Linked DNA regions of Homo sapiens: all the other regions are linked to region 3. The links are contacts of gene promoters, found by promoter capture Hi-C in human tissues and cell types (Jung and others, 2019). All regions are on one chromosome and are shown on one strand. The core of a region is centred on a gene start or on the middle of the fragment in contact, and the rest is flanking DNA. Distances in the headings are between cores, read along the strand shown. Region 1 overlaps FUBP3 (far upstream element binding protein 3). Region 2 overlaps FUBP3 (far upstream element binding protein 3). Region 3 holds the start of ASS1 (argininosuccinate synthase 1).

Region 1 (3,266 bases), core at 368-2,867, 140 kb after region 3:
AACTAGTTCAGATAAGACAAAATCCTGAGTAGTTCATCCTGTTCCACAGCCGTCCTCTGCACTTCTATACTGACTGTCTGCCTAGGTTACAAGGGGACCTCTGGATGAGTAGATCCAAGTCTGGTTTATGTTGTTCCATTCTCCTAAAAATATTTTTAAATGTTCCTAGAAGGTCTACCATTGATAACTTAGTAGCACCTGTCATCACCCGTGAGCAATCCCTTGTTAGGAGAGTGTGATGCCACAGTGCATTATAGGTTGACAGCAGCCTTCCACAAGCTGGACCAGCTAGCTGTCTGCCAGTCGTCGCCTAAATAGAAATTGTTCTCCGAGAAACTACTAATACTTTTTAGGACTTTAAAAAGCATTAGATCTGTTTTGATCTAGATAGACCCACTCAATGCCTCTGGATTGTATAACTACAGCATATAATGTTGATACAGAATGCAGTCTAAATGGTGCTTCATAGAGTTCGTTCGGCATCACGGTAGCACTACACTTAAATGAGTGTGACCAAGCCATTGTAGAATCAGTAGAAAGTAACCTTTTGACAGATTTTTAGGCCCGAACCTCTTCTTCACTGGCACCTATTTTGGGGAAATGTTGATTGGTGTGGGGCCTCAGAAGTTCCACAGTCCTCCTGAAAATCTCTCCCAGTGCTGCTGTTTCACAGTTTAAGCCTGAGCAGTAGGTAATTTGGGATGTGTGTTGTATACCCTGGGCTGATTTAGAACTTTAATGCTTTAAGATTCTGACTTCTTAGAACAAGCACTAGGTTTCCTTTTAAGAGAACACTGTACATCTACCATTAAAAGAAAAAGCCTCCATTCATTGGCCAGTGGGTTCGCCCTGCGAGGCTCATTTAACACATGGTTTTGACTCCCGGCTCAGTCAAGTGTGCTGAACACTCAAGAGATCTAAGTGGTACTCCACTGAGACTGTCTTGTACATGTCCAGTGATTGAATAGCTCAAGTCATCATTTCACAAGGGACTAACTCCTGCCTGTACACTCATTTTAGCTTTCATAAACACTTGAAGGAAACTAGTGTCTGCAGGAAATCCACGGGCTGCTCCTGTAGCTTTACATTGTTGGGACCCAGTAGAGTACCTGGCGGAGTGAGTCTTCCTTAAAGGGTTTTGGTGATGTCACTGAGTGTGTGTGCGCCACCACATGTTAATGGAAGTGCTGAACTTCATACTGGGTATTGGAAAGTAGATAGTAAATAAACTATATATTCCACTGTATGTCTCTAAGGCTTTTCTCATTTGCAGATGAGAACATTTATAATGTGATAATTTATCATATAATATAATTATTTTGGGGTAGAGACAGGGTCTCACTATGTTGCCCAGGCTGGTCTCGAACTCCTGGCCTCAAGCAATCCTCCCACCTCAGTCTTTCAAAGTGCTGGGATGGGTGTGAGGCACCGTGCCCCCATGCCTGGCTGTCTTTATTTTAAAATCTGATAGCCCATGTGTATTACCAAACTTTGGTTTCTTCTGAAGTACCAGTTATTTCATAAATAGAAATTTACTTAGACCACAGTTCTCAAACTTGTGGCCTGTGAGCTATAGAAGACTTACTATGGGCCTGCAGGCATGCTTTGTTTGACCCACCCAGCACCAACACTTAAAAACTAGAGTGATTTTTGGCTGGGCACGGTGGCTTACACCCGTAATCCCAGCACTTTGGGAGGCCGAGGTGGGCGGATCACTTGAACTCAGGAGTTCGAGACCAGCCTGGTCAACGTGGCAAAACCCCATCTCTGCTAAAAATACAAAAATTAGCTGGGTGTGGTGGCAGGTGCCTGTAATCCCAGCTACTCAGGAAGCTGAGGTGGGAGAATAGCTTGAACCTGGGAGGCAGAGGTTGCAGTGAGCCGAGATCGTGCCATTGCATTCAAGCCTGAGTGAAAAGAGCAAAACTTTGTCTCAAAAAACAAAAGAAACTAGAGTGATTTTGCATTAAAAAAAAGAGAGAGCAAGATTTCGGGCTGGGCATGGTGGCTAATGCCTGTAATCCCAGCACTTTGGGAGGCTGAGGCAGGTGGATCACTTGAGGTCAGGAGTTTGAGACCAGCCTGGCCAACATGGCAAAACCCCGTCTCTACTAAAAATACAAAAATTAGCTGGGCGTGGTGGCACATGTCTGTAATCCCAGCTACTCTGGAGGCTGAGGCAGGAGAATTGCTTAAACCCAGGAGGTGGAGGTTGCAGTGAGCCGGGATGGTGCCACTGCACTCCAGCCTGGGCAACAGAGCAAGCCTCCATCCCAAAAAAAGTTTCGGTCAGGCACTGTGGCTCATGCCTGTAATCCCAGCACTTTGGGAGGCCGAGGCAGGGAGATCACTTGAGGTCAGGATGAGACCAACCTGGCCAACATGGTGAAACCCTGCCTCCACTTAAAATACAAAAATGAGTCAGGTGTGGTGGCACGCACCTGTAATCCCAGCTACTCGAGAGGCTGAACCACGATAATTGCTTGAACCTGGGAGACAGAGGTTGCAGTGAGTGGAGATTGCATCATTGCACTCCAGCCTGGGCGACAAAGTGAGACTCTGTCTCAAAAGAAAAAAAAAGATTTCTGGTTTCCCTAGAAAAGATCTGGCCACACTGCTCCCACAGCCTGCACAGCGATAATCAGCAGGAGCTGAGTAGCTGCTGCGTTTTTGACATGAGGCATTCACACTCTCCGGGTTGTCTTCATTCCCGCCATCTTGCTATTGTTTTATACTGTTCTTTGGGATGCCTAATTGACAGTTTTTTACTTATCTTTTTGTAAATTGTGAGTCAGTCGCCTCTGGTTTTTATTTGAAATTTCTAATGGAAAGCTCTGGATTGAGAGTTAGGAGGTCTGAGTTGCCTGTAAGCCGATGCATGACCTTGGGCTGGGTTGGGCTTTCCTAGCATTTGATCTATAGGCTGTTTAAAGATCTTCCGTGGAAAAGAGATCATGGGCAGTTAAGTTTGGGGAATGCAGGATTAAATAAAGGTGAATTGGCTTCTTTACTGTAGGACTTCTCAGAACCTTTAACATGCTTATGTGCATTAACTCCTACAGGGTTTAGGGTGTGTTTCGTAAATGTCCTGAAGTTAGATCACTTCGTGCCCTCTTTCCATGGAACCAAATCACATTCTGTGCATCAAACGTCAGGAAATGTGGAGCTAGATAATTTCAGCAGTCCCTTCAAACCCTTAGACATTCAGAGCATCCATCTAACTGGATCTGGAAAAAGCTCACCATGTTATTTTGGTTCTTGTGCTT
Region 2 (2,943 bases), core at 111-2,610, 190 kb after region 3:
TTATTTTTAATATTAAGAAATTCAATATAACTTTTAACACACACTGTGGAACATTAAACCGTATAAAAATGTAGTTATAACTATTTTTAATTCCAAGGTGTTGTTTGCTTTTTTCTTTTAAATATTTTCTTAATATTTTGTCAGATTAACTAGATGAATAAATAAATCTAGTATTAACCGCATTATGAATTAAATAATTTTGATTTAATGAAAGGGATAATATGATTTCCAGTGTTTACTGTAGTGTATCTTGTACAGATAACATGTATTTTTAAAGGAAAAAAAACGGAATTGAAGCTATTTTTTCTTGCATTTCTAATTGACCTGAGGGACATTCCGTTTGAAATGTACTGAAGTTACAGTTTCTGGTTTTTTCTCCTTATTTTTCTTATAATGCTTGAAATGTCTAACTATTAAAAAAGACAATTGGAAAATGTTATGCATGGGGTTTTTAAGAAAACAAAGTGTTCTTTTTATTTGACTGACAATTCATTTTACACTCTATATAATAAAATCTCCACAAGGCATCTTGTGGGCAAAGTCTTTCTGGCCTGTTTGCTTTCCATTCGCCGGTTCATCCCTCTGCCCCTGCCCGCGGCCGCCCGAGAGGGAAAGAGGATTCCTGCGGGCCTCGCCCGTCATCTTGCACCGCGTCCACCCGCCTTCGTTGGTGCACAGTCTAGATGTCTAGCTAGTTCGTTAAGCTAATTTTATGTTAATGGCTCTGTATGATTTGACAGCTTGACTTGAGAGCCGTGGTTGGGCTCAGCTCCCCTTCCCTGTCACAGTCAGGCATCTGTAAGTGAGAAGTCAGTATGGGAGTGTCATCGGATGGAGCTGGGAGATGCATTGAAGGGCGTGCGGCGGGTCAGCAGACTTCTGCGACTGACTGGGCAGCCCCTTGCCCTCCGCCCGCTCCCCTTCCCTGCGTGCCCATGCACACACATTCGCCTGCAAATGTAGGTGGGCTGCCCTAGGCGCGGTGTGCTTCCCTGACTGTTGCTGCCTGCATCCCCCACCTCCTTGTCCCCAGCCTCACCTGTGGCTGTGGTGGTGGTGCTTTCTCGCTCTTAGCCCCGTGCCCACGGTGGGACACCAGATCGCCAGGAGGGCTGGGAAGCATCAGCACACGTGCTCGTTATGTCCTGTCCTTTCATGAAGAAACAAATGGGGCGTCCTTCCCCAGAGGTGTTAAGTTACAGTCCTGTGGTCTTAGGACTCGTGGCGACAGTGTGGGCCTCAGACTTGGAAGGGCATTAAGTAATAGCATCAGCCCTCGCCTTTTTTTTTCCTTCTGTCCCGTTGGTTGGGGTGACTGGCATTGAGCAGTGTCTGCTTTCACGTCTGAGGGGCCCTGCCTTCGCCCTCAGGCTTTCTGTGCGGGTCTCTACTTAGATATAGAGACCTGTTTCCATCCTGAACGGGGCTTGCTGGGCTGTGCCTGGCCAATACCGGCCCCTTGTCTGTACTCCAAGCTTCTGACAGGAGGGGAAAAAAGCAGCTGTGGCTCCTTCAGGCCGAAAAGGGGTGTGGAGAGCAGCCCATCTGCGGCCATGGCAGGCCTGTTGAGAGCCGGAAGACAAAAAGGAGATGTGGCATTTTTAACTGCACCTCTAGAGAATCGAGTTTGACGTTGAGAAATTGAATAGTAAAAGGCACTTGGAAAGTGGGGGGAGGGGGCCGAGTGGGAGGAGGGCGTAAACGCTGATGACGGTAATGGGAATTCGGGAGAGGGCATTACAGAGAAGACTTCCTTCTAATTCATCTTCCAAGCTCTGTGCCAAAACAGCATTTGGCATGGTTCACAGGGAGCGATTGTGTGATAATGAACCCTAAGGTGTCCCTTAATTGAAGACTGAGCATTGTGGTTTGTGCCAAGAGTCATAAATGGCGCAGGCTTGCGGAGGATGCATTTTCTTAAATGTATCGGTAAGTACAGATTAGCGCTTGTCCCCAGTGAAATGCCCATACTATAAATTATGGAAATCTCTCTTTCTCTCTGATGCAATCTTTTATTGGGGGGAGGGGGTGTGGTACGACAGGAGGCGGGGGGGGAAAGTTTGCAAGCATATGAAATTTGGCCTCTCATTAACATGGCGCCCAAGGAAGATGATTTTCATCAGCAGTCTGGTGTACTGGAGGCTAAAGTGCTTGAAATGTACCAAGTTCAGCGGTTGTGTTCCATTAAGAAAGATGCATGGTCATCACTGTAAGGGCGGTCGGGGTCCGGGAGGCGGGGCGGGCGCTTGCCCAGTCTGTCTTCTGAATGCATGCCCCACCCCCACCCGCCACCGCCCATGCCTACTGGGTCTCTGCCAGCCTCCCAAGTTCAGGATCCATCAAGGACCCTGCTGAGCCGATCCCAGCCCCACCCAGAAGTTTGGGCTGGGGTTGAGGAGTTCTCAGCCAGCGGGCCTCAATCAGTACCCCTGGCCTCCCATCAGATAGGAGGCACCATCTTTCCAGGGTCACTCGACAGTGGTGACCACCCATGATGTCCCAGAGCCCCCAAGGTAGGGTCGGCTGGGGCACAGATGGCACAGTGCAGTGCCTGGTCCATGAGAACGTGGGTCACCCCAGAGCCGCAGCTTCTAGCTGGCTACAGCCCCACTCTCTCCCAGCCCCACTTCTGGTCCACTAGGGCCCAGCTGGGGTTTTTTAAGATGGGCTGAAGCAAATGGGCCTGATAGATGCTTAGAGATTAATGGCCAGAAAGTGGCTTGACACTCAATTCCGCAGGGGGCTGCAGGCCCTGGGTCTGTGTCTTGGGTAGGGTGGAAGGGGAAGCAAAGACAACCCTCACTGCCCTTGAAACAATGGTCATCTTGGCTGTCCTTTGTCTTGAAGGTGTTTCTGTAGCATCTACCAAGGGGGTCCTGGCCCTTTCCAGGTACCTGCTTCCAAGGTGGTCTCTGCACCCTGGGAGGTAGAAAGGCCTAATCT
Region 3 (3,005 bases), core at 204-2,703:
GTGGGGAGTGACCGCCCCAAGGACACACAACTGCTGCAAGGGTGTCATTGTGTAGGTGTTCCTCACTTGCCTCCTGCTAGTGTGGGAGGCCCAGAGACTCCACGAGACCCCCAGCTGCTCCTGTGAGAGGGCTGAGGGGGGCCAGCTGTGATACCGCCTCCCATCTAGAAGGGGCCTCAAGCCACCCATGTACACCCAGCCCCACGTGGCTCACCAGGGGCCCCTTTGCCATCAAGGGCCACATCCCAGGTTTAAGTGTCAGAGAACTAAGGGGCTTAAGAGAGAATCGAGCTGTGGCTTTGTTTGTGAATTGGTTTGATCCTTTTTTCCTTCTAGAAGGACTCACAGCTACTGTTGCTTGCCATGGGCTTGAGGGGGTGGTGGGGGCTGACTGGCAGAGGGGCTGAGAGTGGATGGTGATTAAAAGGAGCACTGACTCCAGGGTAGCGGCTGGGCAAGGCTTGGGGCTCCCACCTCCCCCAGGTTCAGAGCCGGCTGAGGACCGGGAGTCCTCCCTTCTGGGGTCAGTGCTCACTATGGAGCAACTGCCTTGGATGGGGTCCCAGGACTTGCTCTTTTACTGGGGCTGTGGTTGCAGTGATCAGGGCTTTGGAGCCGGCAGACCAAGCTGGGAAACTCCTGAGGTAGAGAAGCTGTTGAAGGCGGGCCTGGGGTCACAACTCCCAGCTGCTTTTTACAAGCAAGAGACTTCTCTCTGAACCTCAACCTTCCCTCCTGTCTAGTGGGTTCGCAGCCAGACAGTCTTTTACTCACTGCTTACTGGGTGCCCTCTGGAGTCTGGGCAGGTGCCAGGCTCTGAGAAGACAGGCCAGCAATCAGCCCTGGCCTAAGGGATGAAAGCCGGGCCTTCCCGCGCCGGCTCACCTCGGTTTTCTCATCCTTACTCGGCTACCAGAGGCTATGGTTGGGGAGGGAGGGGGCTCTGGGGGCTGCAGAAGGCCCAGGCTGCCGGCACCGGATAGAAGTGAGCACGAAGCTCCCTGCGCCAGTGGAACTTTTATCCCGGCTCCCACCGCGAAGCGTTTAAATTGCTTCCCCAGGGCCAGGAGGCAAGTCTCTCGAAGGACGGCTGCGGCCACCCTCCGCCCCTGAGTTACATGGGTCGCAGCCACTGCCGCCCTCCTTGGCGCCTCCAGCCCGCGGGCCAGGGCCAGGAACCGCGAGCCGCCTGCGCCCCCGCCGGCGCGCCCCTGGGAGGGTGAGCCGGCGCCGGGCCCAGGCCCGGACCTGGTGGGAGGCGGGGGGAGGTGGGGACGAGGCCTGGGGAGGCGGGCCCCGCCCATCTGCAGGTGGCTGTGAACGCTGAGCGGCTCCAGGCGGGGGCCGGGCCCGGGGGCGGGGTCTGTGGCGCGCGTCCCCGCCACGTGTCCCCGGTCACCGGCCCTGCCCCCGGGCCCTGTGCTTATAACCTGGGATGGGCACCCCTGCCAGTCCTGCTCTGCCGCCTGCCACCGCTGCCCGAGCCCGGTAAGGAGCCCTCGGCCCCTCTCGCTGCCCACTCCCTAGCCGAGAGCACCCGCTTCCCGGGCCCAGAGGAGGAGGCGTAGAAGACGCCCGCCCCGGGGCCCGCGGAGGCAGAGGGCGGACCCCGATCGCCACTCGCCGGGGACTGGGACCGAGGCAGGAGGGAAGGGGCTCCCGATGCTCAAACGCCTGGCACCGGATTCCAGGTTTCTGGAGCGTGGGGGACGCGGCGGGGGCGCGAGTCCCCGGGGGCGCGAGTCCCCGGGTCCGAAGAGCGGCTCGGGTTATTTGTTCCCTGCGCAGCCGGGTCCTTTCTGGACTCCTTGTCGGATCCGGCTTCCTCTGTGTCGTGAAGCCCCCACATGGAGACCTGGGGAGTCCGGAGCGTGTGGGGGGGCTCCCGATTCTCTCTCCCTCTCTCGGACTCGCCGTCTGTCTCCACCTCTATTTCTCTGCGTAAAACCAGGAGTCCAGCCCCTCTGGGGCTTGGACGTATCGCTTTCCCCGCAGCCTCAGTTTACCCTGGACAGATGGGCATGGTGGCCCTGGCTCCCTTCCCTGCAGGGGGCGGCAGCCACCTGGCCCTCCCCGGTGGGGCTGGCGGCCTCGCGGCGGGGTTTCCTGCTGGCCTGGGCTGGGCTCTGTGGGAGGGGCAGTGCCAGGAATATTTTCTATTCGGGCTGCTGTTGCCTTTGGCCCCTGGGCGGCTGCGCCCTCCAGGGAGGCAGGGTCATTGTGAAAGAGAGGAAACTCCTCTCCCAGGCGGCCAGGGCTGTTCCTGAGGAGGGCTGGCCTGGCCTCAGTATTCTTCTCTGAGAAGTGGAGAGTCCACTCCCGAGCAGCCGAGTCAGGCTGCAGGTCTCAGGGCAGGAACAGACCTGTTCTCTCCCCAGGGGTAGATCAAGACCTAGGGGACTTGGGCTTTGATCCTCCCGCTCCCAGCAAGCACAAACCCAGTGATGGGGAGAGCTGGTGAGGCCTTGGCTCAGCCTCCAGATTCCCAAGCTTCCTTTTCATTTTCTTTTCTTTCTAAAAATTTATCAGAGATGTGGACTCGTCATGTTGCCCAGGCTGGCCTCGAGCTCCTGGGCTCAAGCGACCCTCCTCCCTCGGGCCTCCTAAACTGCTAGGATTACAGGCTCGAGCCACCCAAAGTGCCTGGCCCCCAAGCTTCAGTCTGTTAGAGCTGGCTGGGGCTGAGGGCTCAGGAAACATTTGCAGATACTGTGCGGCTGCTAAGGGCTCTGTAGACTGTTGGGTGCTGGGCCTGGGTCCAATTGCACAATAACTGTGCCTGGGGTTAGGTTCTGATGAGAGGGAGGGAGAAGCAGCCACACGGACTGGGAAGCTTGGCTAGGAGCAGGAACTGGAGGAGTCTCCATTCCAAACTCCCTCTCCCTCCCAGACCCCTTAGGCCCAAGGCCTAGGGCGGGGAAGTTTGGGGGTGGGGGCGGGACCCTGTCCTGGCGGGGCCATCTGTGCACCATGCTGAGAAGTAATTCTGGTTCTGCTCTGTGGGG

Evidence for each region. The method cuts DNA at HindIII sites, captures the fragments that hold promoters and counts their contacts. A contact is called where the count stands out against the background at its distance.
Region 1: a contact is called between a fragment that was not itself captured here and the fragment with the promoter of ASS1 in region 3, in 1 of the 25 tissues and cell types used here (mesenchymal stem cells).
Region 2: a fragment that was not itself captured here is called in contact with the fragment with the promoter of ASS1 in region 3 in 1 of the 25 tissues and cell types used here (spleen).

What each region holds. Positions count from the first base shown.
Region 1 is chr9:130,582,594-130,585,859 of GRCh38, forward strand. The region is part of intron 1 of FUBP3 (far upstream element binding protein 3); the gene reads left to right. Among named protein-coding and RNA genes, the nearest start is that of FUBP3, 4.6 kb to the left of the region's middle. The HindIII fragment of the contact is 6,365 bases long and covers 1-3,266 here.
Region 2 is chr9:130,637,810-130,640,752 of GRCh38, forward strand. It overlaps FUBP3 (far upstream element binding protein 3), which reads left to right. Exons shown (of 19, transcript NM_003934.2): 19 at 1-543. Among named protein-coding and RNA genes, the nearest start is that of MIR6856, 13 kb to the left of the region's middle. RefSeq lists an enhancer at 443-1,038. The HindIII fragment of the contact is 6,178 bases long and covers 1-2,943 here.
Region 3 is chr9:130,443,508-130,446,512 of GRCh38, forward strand. It overlaps ASS1 (argininosuccinate synthase 1), which reads left to right and starts at 1,454. Exons shown (of 15, transcript NM_054012.4): 1 at 1,454-1,488. RefSeq lists a silencer at 1,257-1,376 and an enhancer at 2,257-2,924. The HindIII fragment of the contact is 13,908 bases long and covers 1-3,005 here.